Regions from separate parts of the Homo sapiens genome. Here all the other regions are linked to region 2. Evidence: promoter capture Hi-C in human tissues and cell types (Jung and others, 2019). All regions are on one chromosome and are shown on one strand. Each heading gives the region's core, a stretch centred on a gene start or on the middle of the fragment in contact. The rest is flanking DNA. Distances are from core to core; before and after follow the strand shown. Region 1 has its middle 33 kb from the start of HOXB1. Region 2 holds the start of NFE2L1 (NFE2 like bZIP transcription factor 1). Region 3 overlaps SKAP1 (src kinase associated phosphoprotein 1). Region 4 overlaps SKAP1 (src kinase associated phosphoprotein 1). Region 5 overlaps SKAP1 (src kinase associated phosphoprotein 1).

Region 1 (2,790 bases), core at 132-2,631, 450 kb after region 2:
GTTAGGAGATCGAGACCATCCAGGCCAACATGGTGAAACCCCGTCTCTATTAAAAATATTTTTAAAAAAAGTTAGCTGGGCATGCTGGCGGGCGCCTGTAGTCCCAGCTACTTAGGAGGCCGAGGCAGGAGAACCGCTCGAACCCGGGGGGTGGAGATTGCAGTGAGCTGACATCACGCCATTGCACTCCAGCCTGGGTGACAGAGCCAGACGCCGTCTCAAAAAAAAAAAAAAAATACTAGTACAATTCCTTCCCTCAGCTGTGTATTGTCTTTTAAAGGGAGATATCTGAAGACATATCAAATAAATGCAATAAAATGCTGTTAGGTTTGTGACAGAAGTCTGCATAGGGAACACTGGGGTGCCAAGGAAGAAGTGGTCAGTTCTCTCCCATGCCTATGTGGTGCTCTGCACGCTATTGGTGTCCCATATGTGTTGGATGAATGAATGAGCTTACAAATAGCTTGGAGTAGAAGATCTGAGTGGGTGGAATAGTAGGAAGGGAAAGAAACCTACCTGCCCCCAGCAATGCTATGAGACGAAAAACCAGCTAAATTAAAGGGAATAGGAATGGGGTTATACATCCCTGCAAACAACCCCTGGAAACTGACATATCTAATAGATATACCCTGAAGCTGGTACTCTCTTATTTTAATTTTTTTTTAAGTTAAATAAATGAGTCAGGGTTTCACTATGCTACCCAGGTTGGTCTCAAACTCCTGGGCTCAAGTGATCCTCCCGTCTCAGCTTCCCAAAGTGCTTGGATTACAGGCATAAGCCACCACTTCCTGCCTAGTATGTCTCAGACGTAAGCCACTACTCCCAGCCTAGTACTCTCTTCCTTTCTGATCTAACTCTTAGAAAATCCCAAGGCTAGATTTCCTGGCCAAAACAAGTTGAGCAGGGTAAGGACAAAGGGAGGGCTTTCTCCCACCCATATCAGAAGACTTGAATCCCTGCCTGCCCAGATCATTATATAGAAGGAAAAAAGTCATTTATATTATACTATATTATACTATACTATATTATATTGTATTATCCCTGCCTACCCAGATCACTATATAGAAGGGAAAATGTCATTGTGCTGATTTCCAAAGAAGCTGGGCAAGGATGAACCAAGCCTCTCCAATCTTCATATGATCAAAGGCCACATTGTGTCTTGTTGCACATAGGCTTCCCTCACTCTGCAGCGTAGGGTCTGATGCGCACAAAGGAAGATAAAATTATAGACTTCTCTGTCTGATGGCTCACAGACTTCACCAGACACAAAGAGTGTTGGATGAGAGTATGTGGGTAAAGCAGCAAAACCAGCCCAACCTAAGTAGAAGAACCCCCAAATTGTGCCCACTCAGGGAGGGTAAGGATTGATAGCTTCCTTTGAGATATAGTGTATTCCTTTCATTTATATTTTGGCTTGAGATGCTAAAATGCAAGGAGGAGTGGAATAGCTGTCAAATTTACTAATGGGATCCATCTTCATAACGCAGATCTTCAGAAAACTTCTTGCAGCATAATAATTCAACTCTCCTCAGAACTTTCCTTCATTTCTGCCCTCTTGGGGAAGGGAGCAAAGAAAACTAGGCATTTCCCATTCAGCCCTGTGTCCGTTTGATGCACTGAGATCCCCTGCCTGGTTAACTTCAGGTTTTTCCCATCAAAAATCTCAGAGAGAACCCCAAACATTAGCGGATGTTAACAGGCAGTCCACAGTTACTGCCACCCAACAATCTCCTTCTGCTGACCCCTGGCTCCAAACTGGATTCAGTCAATGCGCTTGACTTTTCCCACACTTCCTGCTTCCAGTCAAAGAAAATGCAGCAGAGCCTGTTTTCCAGTGTAAGCATGTAAATTCCACACTCATCAACTTCAGGCTTTTGCAGCTGTTGGCTTGAGCCCTGCTCAGGACACAGAGAGACAGAGACAATAGAATTTGTTTTGAAAATCTGTCCTTCGAGTTAAAAAGATGGTGTCACTAATTCTTGTCTGGAGGACCTGTAATTTCAATGTTTCTGCAGGACTAGAGAGAGAAGTCACGAAGACCCAGAACGCTTCTTTACCAGTGTGCCTTGGTAATCAGACTGAGAGCTTTTGCTAATGCTAGGTAATTCTATTTGGCTCAACAAACATGTGTTGAGTGCCTACTAAATGCCAGGCACTGTGACAGGTGCTGGCAATTATTGCTAACAGCCCGTGCTTGTGTAGTATTTGGCCAGGGTTAGAGATGCTGTTAGGTGGCTGGGGGAAAAAAAAGGACTGAAGGGAGAACTGAATTCATCATTATAGCTTATCCTCTTTCAGAAAGCTTCTTAACACTACTTCAGGTGAGAAACACAATCAGCAGCACAAAGAGGTCATGTCTCAGGATAACACATTTGCATCAAGTCAGCTACTTTGTCTCCACTTCTGAATAATGGCATAGTAGGCAGAGCTTGGCATCTGGAGTCAAAAGAGCTAGGCTCAGATTCCAACCTCTCCGTTTAGTTGTGTGAGCATGGGCAAGTCGCCTGACCTCCGAGCCTTGGTTTCCAATTATATGAATTCGAAATAAAAATACTTGCCCTGTCCGGATCACTTGAGGTCAGGAGTGTGAGAACAGCCTGGCCAACATGGTAAAACCCTGTCTCCACTAAGAATACAAAAATTAGCCAGGCATGGTGGCAGGCACCTGTAATCTCAGCTACTTGGGAGGCTGAGGCAGGAGAATTGCTTGAACCTGGGTGGGTAGAGGTTGCAGTGAGCCAAGATCATGCCACTGCACTCCAGCCTGGGCAACAGAACAAGACTCCACCT
Region 2 (2,700 bases), core at 57-2,556:
TGGTTTGCTGGTGTACGTTTATTATATGCAGTGAAAGTACTTAATCTGCAAACCACCCCAAATTAAGCCCCTAACTCGCAAGCACAAAATGGACTCGATTATTTACTGAGTTATCAGTTGGCCTTGTCCTTAGTTGTACAGGGACTAATGACTCACCTATAAATAATGGGCTCTTCTAAGAAGACACAGTTGAGTTGACACCTCTTTGTCCTATAGCTGGGAGGAACGCATTGCAAACGCCAACCCAATGATTCCCTAAATGGGGTCTTCGCATCAGCTGCGTTAAAATCACCCCAGCAGGCAGGTTATCCGGCCGCCACTCCAGGGTCATTAAATCAGACTCTCCAGTGGGACCTCGGAATTCGTAGCTTAGCAAGCTCCCCAAGTGATGCTGGGAGTAAACTAACGTTTGAGAGTCACAAACATGTTTTGGCAATATAACCAGATGGGACTGGAGAAATTAAAAAATGAGAAACATCCCTAAAAAAGCAAGACTAAGCTGCGTGGGAGGCCAAACGAGGGGGGTCCTTTGGGCTGTTTCTACCATGACAAAAATCGCCATTACCCCACACCTCTCACACCGCCAACGTTCCGCCAACGTTCCGCCAACGTCCCACCACCCTCATGATATCCGTCCGCGGTACTGCTCCAGCGAAGGTACCCTTGCCTGGGCCATGAGGCGCAACCGTCCCTCACAGCTGGGGTGGCTTCTCCAGGTTCGCACCGAGGGGAAGTTGGGGTACCGGTTTCCGCCGCCAGCACCCAAGATGGCGGCACGAGCGTCGCAACCACAAGAACCACATGCTTCGTGTCCCGCCTCAGCATTCTCGGGTCTCACTAGACTTTTGCAAGTCACTGTGGGAACCCTCAAGGCGAGGGTGTTCCGCACTCTGGCGGCGATACACCTTCCTATTCCCTGACCTAGGCCTTCATTCCCCCGCCACAGAAAGCGCTGGAAGCGCCCAACCTGGATACTTCACCCAACGCCCAAGCCCACTAACATCGCCCGCCGCGAAGGCGCGGCCGAGGGGCCCAGAATGCCAGACACTAGGGCCTTCGCCCTCCTCATTGGTGGGTCCATACCGCGGGGCGGGCCTAGGTACTCATTGGGCCGGGAATTATGTCAGTCTTGGGAAATCAGGTCCGGGGATGAGGAGGTACACTCAGCCATTGGGCCCTCTCTGCTGCCAATCAGAGGGACATCCGTCGACGGCCCCGGCCTCGGCTCGTTGATTGGAGAAACTGTTCCTAGGGTGTTTGCGGCGGGCGGGTTTCCGAGTGCGGTAGCAGGAGGGGGCGGGGAGGTAAGCGGAGGCTCCGAGCTCTAGGCCGGCCGGCGGTGGCGGCGGCGAGGCCGGGACTCGGGCTTAGGGCCTGCTGTGGAGGCAGCGGCGGACGCCGAGCTAAGCAGTGGGTATCGGGCACATTCCTTTCCCAGAAGGGAGGGTTGCAGCGCCGCGGGGCCGAGGCTTATGGGGCGACGGGATGGTGCTGAGGTGCAGGAGGCGGGGGCCGAGCGGGGTTCCCGCCAGAGCCCGGCCCTGGGCCTGACAGGGAGGGGCCCCGCGCGGGGCCGAGAGGAAAGCTGGCTCCGGGGTGGGATGGACTGGGCAGGGTTGAGGGCACGAGAAGGCGTGGTGTGAGGCCTGGACTTGGGAGTGGGGTGGGGCCATCGGGACGGAGGGCGGGGTGGGGTTTGCTGTAAGGGTGGGTCAAGGCCAGGGAAGTAGCACTTGTTCGCTGGCCGCCCCTGGAGGCTAGAAGCTCCGGCGCCGAGAGTGGGCATGGCGACTTGGTCTCAGCCGGACTCGGGTATCCGGGCAGGGTGGGACCAGCCTCAGGCTATGGGCCCTGCACCTACTTGATTTTTAAGGGACTTTGTCCGGTTCCTCGAACTTAATTGGCTCCTGGGAGGTTTTAGTAATAAATTGCGTGAGAACGGGAGGGTAGCGTAAGCAGGAATTCTGGGTCGCAATTGTGTTTACTCTGACCAGAGAGAGGGAGTGTGAGTGTGTGTGTGTGCGCACGTTCGTGTGTGTACGTATAGCTCGCTCTCCCCCTGTAGAATGAAGTTGGTAGATGGGTCACAACGCAGGAGAGGAGAGGCGGTATGTCTTGGTTTGTGACATTAATGGAAGCTCAAAAGTGGAGACCAGAAACAGATTTACTTCCTCTGCACTGGGCAGTCTGGCTAGAGAACGTGGCCATATCCTTCTGCTTTGGCTCAGAAGGTCATATGAATGAAAATAAAACCTGCCTATGCAAATTCTGGACGGAATAGTCCTGCGTAGTAGGGCCCCCACCATCCCTCTCCTTTTTTTCTTTCCTTTTCTTTTCTTTCTTTTTTTTCTTTTTTTGAGACGGAGTTTTGCTCTTGTTGCCCAGGCTGGAGTGCAGTGGCGCGATATCGGCCCACCACAACCTCCGTTTCCTGGGTTCAAGCGATTCTCCTGTCTCAGCCTCCCGAGTAGCTGGGATTACAGGCATGCGCCACCACGCCCGGCTAATTTTTGTATTTTTAGTTGAGATGGGGTTTCTCCATGTTGTTCAGGCTGGTCTCAAACTCCCGACCTCGGGTGATCCGCCCTCCTCGGCCTCCCGAAGTGCTGGGATTACAGGCGTCGGCCCTTTTCCTTTTTTTTCTTTTGTAAGTTGTGAGGATAGGAAAGGGAAATCAGATTTCAAAGTTCAGAAAACAAA
Region 3 (2,700 bases), core at 90-2,589, 290 kb after region 2:
TGCAGGGATTCTTCATTATACTAACAAAGTAAGTTTATAAATACATTAAAATCCACTGTATATTTGGACGCTGAAAACAATCAGATCTTGAGCTTTGTAGTTGCCTGGCTCTTGTACTAAGTATTGTGGTCAGTGTTTCCTACTACATTTTTTTCCTTCCATATGGTAAAAACTATGCTTTTAGTTCAGAAATCTAAATGTTATTACTTGTTAGCAAGTTTTTGTTCCCGATGGTGGGGCTGTGCTCTTGTGGGTGTCTCTCTCTGCCTTCAAATTGTGGGCATTTACAAAGGAAAAGGAGAAGGAATTGTAATTAGGTAGCAACAGGCTCTCATTTTTATGCATGGGTTAGCCTGTAACCTTGGTTTTCATTTTTTGCTGTGTACCTGGCCAGGTTTCTATATTCTTCTAGCACTCTTTGTAGTTTTCACAAAGTCATGACCTAAACACAATATGCAGCATGCTTCTATATTCTTCTAGCACTCTTTGTAGTTTTCACAAAGTCATGACCTAAACACAATATGCAGCATGGTTACTGCCCCTCATCACTAAAATTATGGGTGGATGGGCCCGACTGTGTATCCTTTTATAATGGCAAGTCTAGGATACTACTCTAGCTGACAGTGGAAGACAAAATATCTGAAATATTTTCACATTTTCTAATGAAGACAAAATTCGAGAAGCCTAAAATAACTGTCATTACAAAGAATGTTAAAGAGGAATATCTGGGAGGCCAAGGCGGGTGGATCACGAAGTCAGGAGATCGAGACCATCCTGGCTAACACGGTGAAACCCCGTCTCTACTAAAAATACAAAAAATTAGCCAGGCGCGGTGGCCGGCGCCTATAGTCCCAGCTACTTGGGAGGCTGAGGCAGGAGAATGGCGTGAACCCAGGAGGCAGAGTTTGCAGTGAGCCGAGATCCCACCACTGCACTCTAGCCTGGGTGACAGAGCGAAACTCTGTCTCAAAAAAAATAATAATAAAAAATAAAGAGGAATATTTTTTCTTCATAAATAATTGACTTAGCTATCTATAAAGACACTAACTTTATATTTTTTTATTTGTCTACTTATTAATAGTTTTCCCAGTGAGATGGTAAGCTCCATGAGGGCAGGGACTGTATCTGCTTTCTCACTGCATTTTTCACCTGCAGCTTAACACAGTGTCTTGGTGTTAACTAGGAATCTTTAAACAAACATTTGTTTAAAAAAATGAATAAGTAGCATATCAAGTGTTACCATTCTCTATAATGGTAAAAACTAATTAAATAGGATATAGAGATTGCTAAAAATTTTGACACCTTTATAACTTTCTCTTTAATTTCACAGGAAATGTATGTATCTTTAATTTTCAGGGGATGAAAATGAACATTTATTGTGCCTGTTATGTATTAGGCACTCAGGCACTGTGCTAGATTCAATGCTTTGCAGAAACTCACATTTAAACAGTATCACATCATCTTACAATCAAGTTTTTAACATAGAAATAGGTCTATTCCTACCTCTACCATTGACTATGTCACTTTGGGAATTCTTTAATTTCATGCATAGAACTAAAAACAAAAATTTATTAAGTAAGAATTTAATATTACTAATATAATTAACTCCTCTTATGAGTTTTGCACTTTGGAGTTTTCCAGATTTACCTCTTTCAACACAAATGTTTTTCCTAAATTTCAACTATTTTAATGAAAATATTTTTAAGCATAGTATTTTTATCTGTATGGTCTTAGCCAAAATGTTTGGAGTATGAATCTGCCAAAATGTTTGGAGTATGAATCTATTTTTTTGGATATCTCAGATAAGGATAGTGGTAAGGATAGTAGAGTGGTTAAGAGCAGAGGTTTTAGAACCAGACTATGTATGTGTAAATCCTGGCACTACTACGTACCAGCTGTGTGATTTTAGATAAGTTAACTTCCCTGAGTCTGTTTCCTTGTCTGTAAAATAAGGGTAAACCTAATATCCACATTTTAGGGCAGTCTTGAGGATCAAATGATGACATATGCAGAGTGCTTACCATACAGATGATGCAAGGCAAATAGTAAGTGCTCAATAAACAATAAATGCTGGCTAAAGAAGTTTTAATTTATTAAGGTACTGAGCACTTAGGTGAGCATGCACTCTTTTTCTCTATCATAGAAAATGACCCCAAACTGCTATTTAAAAAAAATTATTCTTAGATAAATTTTATTTATAGATTTTGTTTTCTATATAAAGTTTTGTTCTTGTTTCTTACCTTAATCTTATTGTTAATTGATGCCTTTATAGTACCCCTTCTTCTAATTTGAAGCTCTACTGTGGGCTGAGAAACCAAAACACTGTATTGGTTAGAAACTTGTAAGAAGATTCCTCAGCAAAGGGCCTTAGGGGTTCTTCCAAGAGCAAGGTACATAAGTCACATCTATTTCCACTTAGAGGCCTTTCTGGATTACTTATTGTGTTCTCAGTTGTGTTTGGGAAAGTTGGAAATACCAAATAAGTGACCTAAGGATTAATGAGGCATTATTGTTCTAATTCTGTCAAGCATTAGAATAATCAAAAACAAATGAAAAGTTGATTTCTTCCTGTTTTGCACTGTTAATTTTCTACAATTATTAATCAGCTACCAATGTAATTATTAAACTTTCAATCCAAACAATGTTTTTAGTGTAATACCTGAATCAATACACAGATCCTATATTACAAACCCCATTTTA
Region 4 (2,700 bases), core at 146-2,645, 310 kb after region 2:
TATATTTAAATATCATGGCACACCTCTCTCTGAAATAAAGAACTGTTTTTAAAAAAATTAACCATAATACCACTGCTACACCTAAAAAAATCCAGTAGTTTCCTAATAACATAAAATAACCAGTGTTCAAATTTCTAATTCTCTCATAGATGTCATTTTTTAATAGTTTGCTTGACTCAGAATGCACAAAGTTTATACATTCGTTGGTAAACCTCTTAAATCTCTTAATTTACAGTTAACATGGCTTTATAATTTCCTTATTCACTTAGCACTATTTGTTTTTGCCAGGCTATATTTTTATTTGTTTATTTCTTTGTTTGTGTGTTTGGGACAAGGTCTCGCTCGGTCTCCTATGCTGAAGTGCAGTGGCGCGATCTCGGCTCACTGCAGTCTCAACCTGCCAGGCTTGAGTGATCCTCCCACCTCAGCCTCCCAAGCAGCTAGGACTACAGGCCTGTGCCACCATGCCCAGCTAATTTTGTTTTTTTTGTAGACACAGGGTCTCACCATGTTGCCCAGATTGATCTCAAACTCCTGGGCTCAAGCAATCTACCTGCTCAGCCTCCCAAAGTGCTGGGACTACAGGCATGAGCCACTGTGCCTGGCCTGCCAGGCTATATTATTAGGCATCGATTTACTTTGACGTGAATATAGGCTTGCCATTTCAAAATGAGATTTTTAAGCTTCACAAAGTAGAATTTTTTCATAATGAAATATACTGAATAATTTTCTCAGAAACCTTTTACACCACTCATAGAGATACTCAAAGAATCTTTAAGTTGGCAAGAGATTCCACTGGCCCATGTTTACCACTACCACAAATGTAATGTGAGTGACCACTGGATAAAAAAAAGATATTATTCTATATAATATTCCCATGGTCTTCCCTAGATTTTTATTTAAATATTATGTCATTTGTTTTAGATTCTGGGTCTATGGTGGGAAATTCAATCTAATATTCATGAAGATTTTTTTATAGCAAATAAATTTTGAATTATAAACATTATACCTTATAATCAAATTTTTTATTAAAACTATCACTAACTCATTTTATAAAAGGGGAAACTGAAGCAAAATGAAGGAAATCAGTTTGCTCAATAACTTTAAGTGATATTGCCATCAAATCTAAGGGCAAAATTAATATTCCCTTATCGATATCACCTTTTAGATATTGATTACTGAAATTATAAAAATTCCATGGCAAAAACTCCGCTGGCTTTTCTTTGTAACTTTAAGTAAAAAATTAAGTAGAAATTTTTTTTGAGTAAGCAGGACATGAATTATTAAAGCAATATTATGTCTTATTGTCAAGTAAAAATAAAAAGCCTCTTTCATGTTCTCCAATTATGTTTAAGCTCATTAAAAGTGCCCTTCCATTTATATCCCCTCTACATTAAAGTAATGTATTCTTTGGATCATGTTTTATTTTCCCTGTTTCCTTTTTAAAATAAATATCATTCAGGAAGTTGACAGTGGACCAATAAAAAAACGCAGGTGGAAATGTGAGAGAAAGAATTACCATTAATGTCCCATTATGATAAATAGAAACTACTGGCTTTTTTTTTCCCACTATGTCAAGGTACTAAGCTCGATGCTTACACACATTACTACTAATCTTCAACAACCTTGCAATGAGACAGTGAAAAACAGTCACGAAGAGTATGGGCTCTCGACCTCTGGAGATAATGGGCTCTAGAATCCATACAGGGTTTCTTATTGGGGTGATGAAACGTTCTGAAATTAGATAGTGGTGATGGTTGCACAACTTGTACTGTACTATACTATACTATACTATACTATACTATACTATACTATACTATACTATACTGTACACCACTAACTTGTACCTTTTAAATGGGTAAATTTTATGGTATGTGAATTATATCTTGATAAGGCTGCCTTGGTTTTTTTTTTTTTTTCTTTTTGAGACAGAGTTTTGCTCGTGTTGCCCAGGCTTGAGTGCAATGACACAATCTCGGCTCACTGCAACCTCCGTCTCCCAGGTTCAAGCGACTCTCCTGCCTCAGCCTCCCAAGTGGCTGGGACTACAGGCATGCACCACCACTCCCAGCTAATTTTTTGTATGTAGTAGAGACAGGGTTTCACCATGTTGGTCAGGCTGGTCTCGAACTCCTGACCTCAGGTGATCCACCTGCCTGCCTCAGCCTCCCAAAGTACTGGGATTATAGGCATGAGCCACCGCACCCGGCCAAGGCTGCTATTTTTAAAATGTGTGCTACTAAAAGGATATACAAATAATGGATCTTTTATAATTAAAGACTATTTTCCTTCCAGGCACCAGACCTGGTTTAGTTCAAATATCTTGAAGAACTCAAGTGTGTTTTTAGGCAGATGCAGAGTTAATAAAATTCATCCCATCATCTTCTTGTACAGAGGGTCCTGTCACAGATAAAAATGCTCAGAAAGTTTGGGGCCAGCATTTCTGTTCTTTCTCACTCCCATCCCAACACCACCCAGTTTTCCAGGGCTTTTAAGATTCTTCTGCTAGTTGTTCTCTTTCTTACATATTTCTAATCTTTTCATAATCTTAAATTGTCCTGTTGTACCTTATCTAAACCACTTACTCCTCCTACCCATCCCACCAGCTTCTGAAGCACATAATCAGCTAAGGTCTGATCAAAAGGGCAAGGTAAAAGATACCCTCTCACTAACTCCTCCTACCCCTGAAAATATCTGTGA
Region 5 (2,700 bases), core at 9-2,508, 350 kb after region 2:
ATAAAAATTAAAAAAAAAGAAAAGAAATAAAGCAGGTAAAAGAATTAAGAATTAAGCACTTACGAATAAATAGAACATATTCTATGTTCATGATCAGAAGACTTAATATCGTTAAAATGGCAATACTCCCCAAACTGATCTAAAGCTTTTATGTAACCCCTATCAAAATCCCAGCTGGCTTTTTTTGTAGAAATTGAAAAGCTAATCCTAAAATTAACTTGGAAATGTAAGGAATCCAGATAGCCAAAACAATTTTGAAAAAGAGAGACAATGGCCGGGCGTGTTGGCTCACACTCGTAATCCCAGCACTTTGGGAGGCTGAGACGGGTGGATCACCTGAGGTCAGGAGTTCAAGACCAGACTGGTCAACACGGAGAAACCCTGTCTCTACTAAAAATACAAAAATTAGCTGAGTGTGGTGGCTAGTGCCTGTAATCCCAGCCACTTGGGAGGCTGAGGCAGAATAATTGTTTGAACCTGGGAGGCCGAGGTTGCAGTGAGCCGAGATCATGCCACTGCACTCCAACCTAGGCAACAGAGCAAGACTCTGTCTCAAAAAAGAAAAAAAAAAGGAAAGAAAAAGAAAGACAAATTTGGAGGACTCACACTTTCTGACTTCAAAACTTACCACAAAACTACAGCAATTAGGAAAATATGGTACTGGCATAAGGACAGAGATAAAGTTCAAAGGAATAGAATTGGGAATCCAGAAATAAACCCTCACACTTATGGTCAATTTTTGCAAGAGGGTCAAGACAATTAAATGTTGAAAAAGTTGTTTTTTCAACAAATGGTGCTGAGACAACTGAGTATACACATGCAAAAGAATGAAGTTGGATTCCTACCTCACACCATATAAAAAAATTAACTAAAAATGGATCAAAGACCTAAATATAAGAGCTAAAACTATGAAACTCTTAGAAAAAGACAGGTGTAAATCTTTGGGTCCTTGGATTAGGTAATGGTTTCTTAGATATGACACCAAGAAAAAAAAAGCAACCAAATACAAAAATAGACAAACAAGGCATCATCAAATTTAAAAGCTATTGTGCTTCAAAGAAGGCCAACAAGAAAGCAAAAGGATAACCCACAGAATGAGAGAAAAGCTTTTGCAAATCATATAGCTGATGAAAGACTTGTATGTAGAATATATTAAAACTCTTATATTTCAGTAATAATAAGACAAATAGCCCAACTGAAAAATGAGAAAAGGAACTGAATAGACATATCTCTAAAGAAGATACACAAATGACCAATAAGCACATTAAAAGATGTTCAATATCACTAGCCATCAGGGAAATGCAAATCAAAATCATGAAATACCACTTCACACCCACTAGAATGGTTACAGGCGAAAAGAACAACAATGAATGTTGTTGAAAATGTAGAAAAATTGGAAACCTTATACATTGCTGGTAGGAATGTAAAACAGTGCAGCCACTTAGAAAAATAATCTAGCAGTTCCTCAAAAGGCTAAACAGAGAATTATCATAGGATCCAGAAATTATATTACTAGGAAATACCCAAAAGAAATGAAAACAGGTGCTGACACAAAAACTTTACACAAATATTCATAGCAGCATTTTTTTTTTTTTTGAGACAGAGTCTCGCTCTATTGCCCAGGCTGGAGGGCAGTGGTGCGATCTCAGCTCACTGCAACCTCTGCCTCCCGGATTCAAGTGATTCTCGTGCCTCAGCCCCCCAAGTAGCTGGGATTACAGGTGCATGCCACCATGCTGGGTTAATTTTTGTATTTTTAGTAGAGATGGGGTTTCATCACTTCGCCCAGGCTGGTCTTGAACTCCTAGACTCAAGCAAACTGCCTGCCTTGGCTTCCCAAATTGCTGGGATTACAGGCGTGAGCCACCATGCCTGGCATAGCAGCATTATTCTTAATAGCTAAAAAGTGGAAACAACCCAAATATCCATTAACTGATGAATGGATAGATAAAATGTAGCATACAATGGAATATTATTCAGCAATAAAAGGAAATGAAATGCTGATATGTGCTACAACATGGATGAATCTTTAAAATCATTATGCTAAGTGAAAGGAGCCAGTCACAAAGGACCACATATCGTATGATTCCATTTACATGAAATGTATAGAATAGGCAGATCTAAAGAGACAGAAAGTAGATAAAGAAAGTCAGGAAGAGGGATTGGAGAGTGAAGGCTAAGAGGTTCAGGTTTTCTTTCGGTGTAATGAAAATGTTCTAAAATTTACTGTGGTGATAGTTACACAATTCTGTGAATATACTAGAAGCCATTGAGTTGTATGCTTTAAATGTGTGAGTTGTATAGTATGTGAATTATATCTCAATGAAGCTGTTTAAAAAAATAAATAAATACCTGTAATCTCAGCATTTTGGGAAGCCAAGGTAGGAGAACTGCTTGAGCCCAGGAGTTCAAGACAAGCCTGGGCAAAAATCAAGACCCTGTCTCTACAAAAAAAAAAAAAAAAAGTTTTTAATTAACTGGACATGGTGGTGCACGCCTGTAGCTACTTGGGAGGCTGAGACAGTAGGATCCATTGAGCCCAGGAGTTCAAGGTTGCAGAGAGCGGTGATTAACCCACTGCATTCCAGCTGGGTGACAGTGCAAGACTCTGTCTCAAAATACTATATTGAATATTTTTTATTACATTTACACTTTGAAAATCATAGTTAAAATATATATACATATATATATATGTATCAG

What was found. Contacts are between HindIII fragments. The study calls those that stand out against the background at their distance.
Region 1: a fragment that was not itself captured here is called in contact with the fragment with the promoter of NFE2L1 in region 2 in 1 of the 25 tissues and cell types used here (bladder).
Region 3: a contact is called between a fragment that was not itself captured here and the fragment with the promoter of NFE2L1 in region 2, in 1 of the 25 tissues and cell types used here (mesendoderm cells).
Region 4: a contact is called between a fragment that was not itself captured here and the fragment with the promoter of NFE2L1 in region 2, in 1 of the 25 tissues and cell types used here (H1 embryonic stem cells).
Region 5: a fragment that was not itself captured here is called in contact with the fragment with the promoter of NFE2L1 in region 2 in 1 of the 25 tissues and cell types used here (mesenchymal stem cells).

Annotation. Positions count from the first base shown.
Region 1 is chr17:48,496,501-48,499,290 of GRCh38, forward strand. No RefSeq gene overlaps it. Among named protein-coding and RNA genes, the nearest start is that of HOXB1, 33 kb to the right of the region's middle. The HindIII fragment of the contact is 6,789 bases long and covers 1-2,790 here.
Region 2 is chr17:48,047,053-48,049,752 of GRCh38, forward strand. It overlaps NFE2L1 (NFE2 like bZIP transcription factor 1), which reads left to right and starts at 1,307. Exons shown (of 6, transcript NM_003204.3): 1 at 1,307-1,410. It overlaps NFE2L1-DT (NFE2L1 divergent transcript), which reads right to left and starts at 1,001. Exons shown (of 2, transcript NR_170231.1): 1 at 573-1,001. It also overlaps a transcript of COPZ2 not described here. RefSeq lists enhancers at 79-682, 527-716, 683-1,284, 787-1,026, 1,285-1,886 and a silencer at 1,437-1,716. The HindIII fragment of the contact is 14,336 bases long and covers 1-2,700 here.
Region 3 is chr17:48,342,017-48,344,716 of GRCh38, forward strand. All of the region lies in intron 4 of SKAP1 (src kinase associated phosphoprotein 1), which reads right to left. Among named protein-coding and RNA genes, the nearest start is that of SKAP1-AS2, 49 kb to the left of the region's middle. The HindIII fragment of the contact is 7,800 bases long and covers 1-2,700 here.
Region 4 is chr17:48,359,298-48,361,997 of GRCh38, forward strand. The region is part of intron 3 of SKAP1 (src kinase associated phosphoprotein 1); the gene reads right to left. Among named protein-coding and RNA genes, the nearest start is that of SKAP1-AS2, 66 kb to the left of the region's middle. The HindIII fragment of the contact is 4,001 bases long and covers 1-2,700 here.
Region 5 is chr17:48,400,752-48,403,451 of GRCh38, forward strand. All of the region lies in intron 1 of SKAP1 (src kinase associated phosphoprotein 1), which reads right to left. Among named protein-coding and RNA genes, the nearest start is that of SKAP1, 28 kb to the right of the region's middle. The HindIII fragment of the contact is 6,433 bases long and covers 1-2,700 here.